Regions from separate parts of the Homo sapiens genome. Here regions 1 and 2 are each linked to region 3. The links are contacts of gene promoters, found by promoter capture Hi-C in blood cells and fetal thymus (Javierre and others, 2016). All regions are on one chromosome and are shown on one strand. Each heading gives the region's core, a stretch centred on a gene start or on the middle of the fragment in contact. The rest is flanking DNA. Distances are from core to core; before and after follow the strand shown.

The links. Contacts are between HindIII fragments. The CHiCAGO score rates a contact against its expected background, and 5 or more counts as called.
Region 1: a fragment that was not itself captured here is called in contact with the fragment with the promoter of OR10AD1 in region 3 in 1 of 17 cell types (endothelial precursors); the score reaches 5.7 in endothelial precursors.
Region 2: a contact is called between a fragment that was not itself captured here and the fragment with the promoter of OR10AD1 in region 3, in 1 of 17 cell types (endothelial precursors). The highest score is 5.2, in endothelial precursors.

The regions. Positions count from the first base shown.
Region 1 is chr12:48,567,420-48,570,119 of GRCh38, forward strand. LALBA (lactalbumin alpha) reads right to left here and starts at 2,627. Exons shown (of 4, transcript NM_002289.3): 1 at 2,469-2,627; 2 at 1,663-1,821; 3 at 1,098-1,173; 4 at 265-598. The coding sequence starts at 2,601. The coding sequence ends at 538. The HindIII fragment of the contact is 749 bases long and covers 973-1,721 here.
Region 2 is chr12:48,538,045-48,540,744 of GRCh38, forward strand. No RefSeq gene overlaps it. Among named protein-coding and RNA genes, the nearest start is that of OR8S1, 14 kb to the left of the region's middle. The HindIII fragment of the contact is 2,735 bases long and covers 23-2,700 here.
Region 3 is chr12:48,201,891-48,204,590 of GRCh38, forward strand. It overlaps OR10AD1 (olfactory receptor family 10 subfamily AD member 1), which reads right to left and starts at 1,402. Exons shown (of 1, transcript NM_001004134.1): 1 at 449-1,402. The coding sequence starts at 1,402. The coding sequence ends at 449. All of the region lies in intron 1 of LOC102725258 (a long non-coding RNA gene), which reads left to right. The HindIII fragment of the contact is 3,232 bases long and covers 871-2,700 here.

The DNA of each region.
Region 1 (2,700 bases), core at 97-2,596, 370 kb after region 3:
TGCTGGAATTACAGGTGGAAGCACTGCACCCGGCCAGTGTTTAGCCAACTTTGGATCCGTCTACAGTTCCTTGAATAGATTAGGTGATCAATAAAAGTTTGTTGCATTGAGTTGGTACAGACAGTAACCTTCACCTTTCTATTGTAAATTCAGCCTACTTCTTCTTCAGTAGAGATGGAAGGTGGCTATGACCTATGGCTTCAGTGTCCACCTACTCATCCTATTTCTTCCCCTTCCCTCCAGGGGGAAAAAAATTACAGCCAGTGACTTCAAAGTGGGACCTTTATTCAAGACAGAGGTGAAATCTGTGCTGTAGTGAAAGTGCCATCGAAGGCACTGAGTAAGGGTCTAGAGCTCAGTGCACCACTCAGGCATCCCTGGAAAATAGTCTTCAAGAATTCGGTGATGTCACTACAGGGCCCAAGGCTCAGAGACAGATAAGCTTTGGGGGAACAGAAAGAAACAAACTGAGGTGGCATTAGGGAAGAGGTATTCCAGGAGTGTGGAGTGGGCAGGGGTGCCAAGGACAGCAGACACTCACAACTTCTCACAAAGCCACTGTTCCAGCTTCTCAGTGCAGAGGGCTTTATGGGCCAACCTGATAATGGAGAAGGGGGACAAGGTGAGTTAGCTGACTGAATCTTTACATTCATTCCCAGGAGGGCTGAAGTGGAAGAGCGTGGACGAGAATTACAGAAAGACATTCCTGGCCTGATGTCAAGCGACACAAGCCATCAAGTGGAATACAGTCCATAAAAAATATCCAAGAAAATTGTAGGGTTAAAAAAGAGATGCAATGTTACCAACAGCTTGCTTTAGGGCATAGAACTAAACAAGTGGAATTAGATGTCCAAGTCTAAGTGAAAGGAGGCCTGGGTCTGAGCCCTCCATTAGGCAACCCCTTATTAGGAAAATTGCTACCAAGGAGCGGAGCGAGAGAGGCTTAATAACAGAAACCTGAGTCTCTAGGTAAGCTTTGTTTCAGACACTGTATTCTAGATTAAATGACCAAGAGATAGGGTAAGAGGAAAGGGGTGCTGGGCTAATGGGGTAAGGAGAAGGAGGATGGGGAAATAGAAAATAGAATAAGGATTCACCAGTAGTCAATTCCTTTAATATCCAGGATCTTCTTGGCACACATTATGTCATCAGTAATGTCATCATCCAGGAACTCTGGCAGGAGTTACAGGGAAAGGATTGAGACAGCTGACAAGTATTACCCAGAAAGGCACTGAGTTCCCCTAACCCCTGGATCCAGTGGGTTCTCTAAACTCAAGGCTTGTGCCTGTTGTCTTTCTATATGAAAGGACCAATGTGGTAATGTCTAACCCTGGGTAGGGACTTCCTTCATTTCCCTGGGATATCTCTGGAGGAATCATCAGCTTCATCAACTGACTTACCCTGAAAATGCAGACAATCAGATTCCAAGACTCTCAGACAGCTCCGATTGTCTACCACTGAACCTCAAGGAACTGTCTGGGGATTTGATGACCATGAAAAATCCAAACAGCTTCTTACTCAGTACTGCCAATTCAAGTCCCACAATTTTTATAGAGCCCAGCCAAGGCAATGAAGCCTGAGGTCTGCTTGGCACTAAAAAGGAGATTATCCCAAGGGCAGGCCTCAGAAAAACAGAGAAAGAGGGTTATAGGGGCTACTCACTGTCACAGGAGATGTCACAGATGTTCCTTGACTGAGGGACCTGGCTGCTCTTGCACCAAAGCTTATTACTGATCTGGAAGAGTCCATATTCCGTGCTTTCATTGTTTTCAACTATGGCTTGTGTGTCATAACCACTGGTGTGAAACATGGTACAGATCACTGAGGGAAAGATGAGAAAGAGATACCACAGAGATGTACAGGATCTGCATAAAGGAGGAACTGTAATTCTCAGACAAAAATGCTTTCCAGCCAATCTCCAAAGATGGCAAAGCTCAGAGTTTCTTGATGAGATGGAGAATTCCAAAAAAAAATCAGACAATAAGAGAAAGAAAGGATAGGAAAATAAATGGGGCCAGGCATGATGGCTCACGCTTGTAATCCCAACACTTTGGGAGGCTGAGGAGGGCGGATCACCTGAGGTCAGAAGTTTGAGACCAGCCTGGCCAACATGGTGAAACCCTGTCTCTACAAAAAATACAAAATTAGCCAGGCATGGTGGTGGGTGCCTGTAATTCCAGCTACTTGGGAGGCTGAGGCAGGAGAATCACTTGAACCGAGGAGGCGGAGGTTGCAGTGAGCCGAGATTACACCATTGCACTCCAGTCTGGGCAACAAGAGCGAAACTCCACCTCAAAAATAAATAAATACATACATATATACATACATGAAATAAAAGAGTATGCAAATGAGCAGAAAAGAGGATGATTAGATAATTAAGTAAAAGTGGAGGGGCGAAGTGGAAGAAAGAGGGGATGGAGGAGAGAAGCGTATGAGGAATGGATGAAACACAGAGGCAGGGAACTCACATTCAGGCAAAGCGATGCCTCCATAACCATCTATGTCTTTCAGCAGCTGGGACAGCTCACATTTTGTGAATTGCTTGGCCAGGATGGCAGGGAACAGGATGCCCACCAGGAACAGAGGGACAAAGAACCTCATTTTGGCTACCCCCAAGAACCTGAAATGGAAGCATCACTCAGTTTCATTTATTTATATTCATGCAGAAAGCCTCAGGGGCTCTGGTACCAAGCCCTACAT
Region 2 (2,700 bases), core at 140-2,639, 340 kb after region 3:
ATGAGATTTAATTAAACTAAAAAGCTTCTGCAAAGCAAAAGAAATAACCAACACATGAACAGACAACCTGCAGAATGCAAGAAAGTATTTGCAAACTATGCATTCAACAGGGTATTAATATTCAGAATGTACAAGGAATGCAAACAACAACAACAAAAACAAATAATCCTATTTAAAAGTGGGCAAATGGCCAGGTGCAGTGGCTCATGCCTGCAATCCCAACACATCTGGACATCGAGGCAGGAGGATCACTTGAGCCGGGAGTTCAAGACCAGCCTGGGCAATGTAGCAAGACCCCGTCTCTATTAAAATTAAAAAGTTAGCTGGGCATGGTGGTGTGAGTCTGTGGTTCCAGCTACTGGGGAGGCTGAGGTGGGAGGATCACTTGAGCCCAGGAGGTTGAGGGTGCAGTGAGCTATGATTGCACTACTGCACTCCAGTCTGGGTGACAGAGCAAGACTCTATCTCAAAAAAAAAAAAAAAGTGAAAGAAGGATGTAAATAGATATTTTGCAAAAGAAGACATATGAATGGCCAACAAGTATAGGAAAAAATGCTCAACGTCACTCATCATCAGAGAAATACAAATTAAAATTGCAATAAGATATCATCTTACACCAGTCAGAATGGCTAGAATTCAAAGGACAAAAAATAACTGATGTTGGTGAGGATGCAGAGAAAAGGGAATGCTTATACACTGTTGGTGGGAATGTAAATTAGTACAACCTCTATGAAAAGCAGTATGGAGATGATGGATATGTTAATTAGCTCCATTACGGTGATTATTTCACAATGTATACATATATCAAAATATCAGTTTGCATATCTTAAATATATACAATTTTTGTTCATCAATTATACCTCATAAAAGCTGGGGGGAAGGATGTATTGGTGTATTTAATGAAATATTGAAAAGACATTTATTTTTCCTATTTAAGAATGAGGATATACAAGGAGGCTGCATGCCTTCAGATGACCCCTCAACGCAGTCACTGTGCCTAGGTATCTGTGTTTACATCTCAGACCCATAGGAATGACCCCACAAAAACACTGAATCTCATTTGAAAAGAATTACAAGTGTTTGGGGTGGGGATAAGTGTCAGAAGGGAGAGGAAATAAGGCAGGCAATCACTGACTCCCTTCTGATCCAGTGATACCATACTATATGTGATACAAGTGGTTTGGGAATAGAATTCAGTAGACATTTCAGAAGGGTCAGGCTTCTCTACTTAACTCTGACTTATTACAATAGCCCTAGAACTCAAGTGGTGGAACAATCAATAGTTTAGGTTAAGTATCCTTTCCCTTTACACAGAAAGTATCCATCAAACTCCAAAGGAAAGGAAAATGGTGGAAAGGCTAAATTAGCATGACTAGCAATCGTGGGAGTTCTCTTGCTGCCACCACTCTTAAGCCTTGGCTTCACCTCTGTTCCCACTCAGGTTGGTCCCTAAAGAGTACATGAAAAGAGAAATGAGAAGTGGACTTGGGCAGAAAAATGAGCATAGCTAAATGAGCTAAATGGTAAGCATCATGTTTTCATTCCCCAAAACATGTCCTCTCTCTTTCTTATCATCATAAGGTTAGTTGGGACCCAGAAAAATGGCAAGTCCCTTGAGAACTTCCCTGCAAAATATGGTGCAACCACTATGAACAAGAAATGGAAGAATGAATTGTACAGGTATAAGAGGTAAGAGATCCTTTCCTGAGTTCCCCTTAGCCTTAGAATGACAGGGGAAGGCAGTGACTACTAGTAGGGCAAGAATGTCAGCTTACAGGCCGGGTGCGGTGGCTCCTACCTGTAATCCCAGCACTTTGGGAGGCTGAGGAGGGCAGATCATGAGGTCAGGAGTTCAAGATCAGCCTGGCGTGTATGGCGAAACCCCGTCTCTACTAAGAATACAAAAATTAGCCGGGCATGGTAACGCACACCTGTAGTCCCAGCTACTCGGGACGCTGAGGCAGAAGAATCGCTTGAACCCGGGAGGCGGAGGTTGCAGTGAGCCAAGATTGCGCCACTGCACTCCAGCCTAGGTGACAGAGGGAGATTCCATCTCAAAAAAAAAAAAAAAAAAAGAATGTCAGCTTACGAGAGAGTTAGCAGCCCACTGTAGTATACTATAAGACACATATTGCAGCTGTAAGATTAATGATAACCATAAGGCCCACTCAAACATCTCACAGGACCTACACTATATATGATGATGCAACTTGTCCTAGTAATACTCTGGCCAGAGTTGGAAATCCCCAGGCCACCTTGCATCATACTGCTAAGTGACATATAGTGTGGGCCATGTGTGATATTTGAGTGGGCCTTATGGTTATTGTTAATCTTGTAGCCACAGTATGTCTCTAATAGTATACTACACCCACAAAGGGTCTTATGACCAGAACAAAAGGAAATTGACTTAGCAAATATGCCTTGGACAGCCTTGCCAGCAACTGGATAAGGATCATCTACGCCATGCTAGATTACCAGGAGAGAGAGGGCCACACCTGAGGGCCAGAGGGGATGAGTCACATGTGGAGCAGGAAATCAGCATAGAACCAAGGCAGGCCACCAGTGAGTAGATGCCTGTGGTCACCAACACCACAGTTACTCTAGGGTCAGCATAACATCAACCCCCAGTAAGAGACAAGAAGGGGAAAATCTTAATGTATAGTTATGAAACCTTAAATGACTGAGAAATCACAGAATTTT
Region 3 (2,700 bases), core at 152-2,651:
GAAGTGAGAGTGGAATTTGAGAAAGAAAAACAGTAAAATGAAGAGCTGAAAAATAAAAGAGTTTATTTCTAAATGTATGTACGAAACTCAGGTTGGGGGACTAGCATGTAAAGGTATATACAAATAAAATGGAGTTAAGTGCACTTATTTATTGAATCCTGTTGTGAGAACTTAAGAGGAAAAGAAACTGAGGAAAAAAACTAAGGAAAATCCGAAATTCTCCCGAGGAAGGTCCAAGAAAAAACAATGTGGAAGTGAAGTCAGAGAGATAACATCAGGACATTGGACATCAGGAGGAACTTTCAGGTCTGATTCTAGTGCCAAGGAAGCCATGAACGCTCTTTCCTGGAGCCTTTCAGCATAGGAGAGTTACTCATCTGCCAGGGCTGGGGATGGGGTAACTCTCCCATTCCCCAGGTGAAGGAGCTTTCCTTTCAGGGCCTTCCTGCTAGACAGACTGTGGCTGGGCCAGCCTGGTTCTTCCAAGTGCCCTCACCATGGCCTCCTTAATTTCCTTGTTGCGGAAACTATAAATGATGGGGTTGCACATGGGGGTAATGATGGTGTACAGGAGGGAGAAAGGTTTGTCTTTGTCAGGCCCATGTGTGCTGTGGGGGTTCATGTAAGAGAACATAGCTGAAGTGTAGAGAAAGATGACCACAGTCAGGTGAGAGGCACAAGTAGAGAAAGTCTTCCCCCGACCTGAGGAGGAGGCTTTGCTGAGGATGGTGGCCAGGATGTGCACATAGGAAGTGACAGTGAGCACCATGGGGCTGAGAATTACCACGATGGCATCGGCAAAGATTGCCCACAGACTAAACTGAGGGTCCCCACAAGAGAGGCCAATCACTATGGGGGCCTCACAGAAGAAGCTTTCTATGTGGTTGTCTCTGCGGAAGGGCTCTCGGAATGAAATATACTCGAGAAAGATGCCATTGATCAGCCCAAAGAACCAGGCAGTTCCCACAAGCCTGACACAGACCTTCTGGCTTATGATCGGGACATAGTTAAGTGGGTAGCAGATAGCAACATAACGGTCATAGGCCATGAAAGCCAAGAGGATGCACTCGGCCACACCAACACAGAAGACAAAGTACATCTGGGTCATGCAACATACAAAGGAGACAATGTGGTCCCTGACCACGAGGTGGATCAACATCTGTGGGATGGTAGTGGTGATGAAGCAGACATCCAGGAGAGACAGATGGCCGAGGAAGAAGTACATGGGGCTGTTGAGCTTGGGGTCTGTCCAGGAGGTGATAAAGATGATGAGGCCATTCATGGCCATGGTGAGGCTGTAGAGGGCCAAGAAGAGGGCAAAGAGCAATGCTCGTGTGGAAGTGGAGCTCTGCTGAAAGCCCACGAGGATAAATTCCGTCACTATGCTGCCATTCCTTAGCATCTGGGGCCTGTTTGAGGAGGAAAGATGATGGGAAAAGCACAAGGGTATAGCTGTGGGGTAATAGAAGGTACCCACTTGGTCCCAGAAGCCCAATTATAAAACAGGATGGATGAATGGTGGTCAACCTTTTGGAACTTAGTAAACTAGTAATTTGGCAGTGTTACGGGGTGGTGAAAATGCCAGGGTCATCACAGGCTGCATACATAGAATCATAATATCAACAGATGAAGAAAGTGCTGGTTGTAATGTTCTTTACTCTGGTTTCATCAGGCATCAAGTGAAGTATTGCATCTGCTCCAGAGCCCTCAATATTGAAGGATTAGCCATTAACCAGGATGTATTCAGAGGTGAAAAAATAAGATAATTGGGTCTGGGACCATGCCAACTGAGGAAAAGTTTTAGGAATTGAAGAATGGAGTGTGTGAGGGAAAGGGCTGGTGGCTATCAGGTTATAGAAGATTGTATTTAGGAAGCACTTGAGATATTTGAAGGTGTATTTTTCTAGAAGCAAAAATGCTCAACCTCTGTGTACCTAATTTAAAATGATGAATGGGTTGAAGTTTCAGGGAAAATAAAAACATTCTAATCCTCACAATTGTCCCTCAGCTAACAGTGATTTGCACCTTTTTGGAGACAGTCATGTCAAGCTCTTCCCAGTCACCCACCTCTTCCCAGACTCACTCGCCCAGCAGTTGCTGCTGCTACCGCAGCCACCCATGCTGTGCATGCTGGAGCTGAGGGCTGGGTGGGGGCTCATGCATGCCTTCCTAATAGGAGATGGTTTTCCTCCTGGGGCTGGAATTTACGGTTACACACAATTGGGTGGAAAGGATCCAACCATCCCTGTGTGAAAAGGGAAGCTATGAGCAGGGCATATATCTAACCTTTCTAGAATGGACCTTCAGAGAACTTTCAACTGTCTCTTTGTCTCTGGCAACAAATCTTGTTCTTTTTCCATTTTCAAAGAATGAGCGGTCACAATTCTTATGCTCTTATCTCTCTATTGTAACTTTTAGGAAGTTGTTATGTTCATATTAAGTCTGTCTTATACTTTTCATGTTGTTTTGGAGCTAAGATGTATCAGATCCCTTCCACCTTCAGATGCTTATACTTTTTTTTTTTTTTTTAAGAATTTATAGAGACAGGTACTCACTATGTCACCTGTGCTGGTCTTGAACTTCTGGCTTTAAGTGATTCTCCTGCCTTGGCCTCCCAAAGTGCTGGGATTACAGATGTGAGCTACTGCACCCATCCTCATCTTCAGATGCTTATAGATGATAAGTATATTCCTGCTTAAC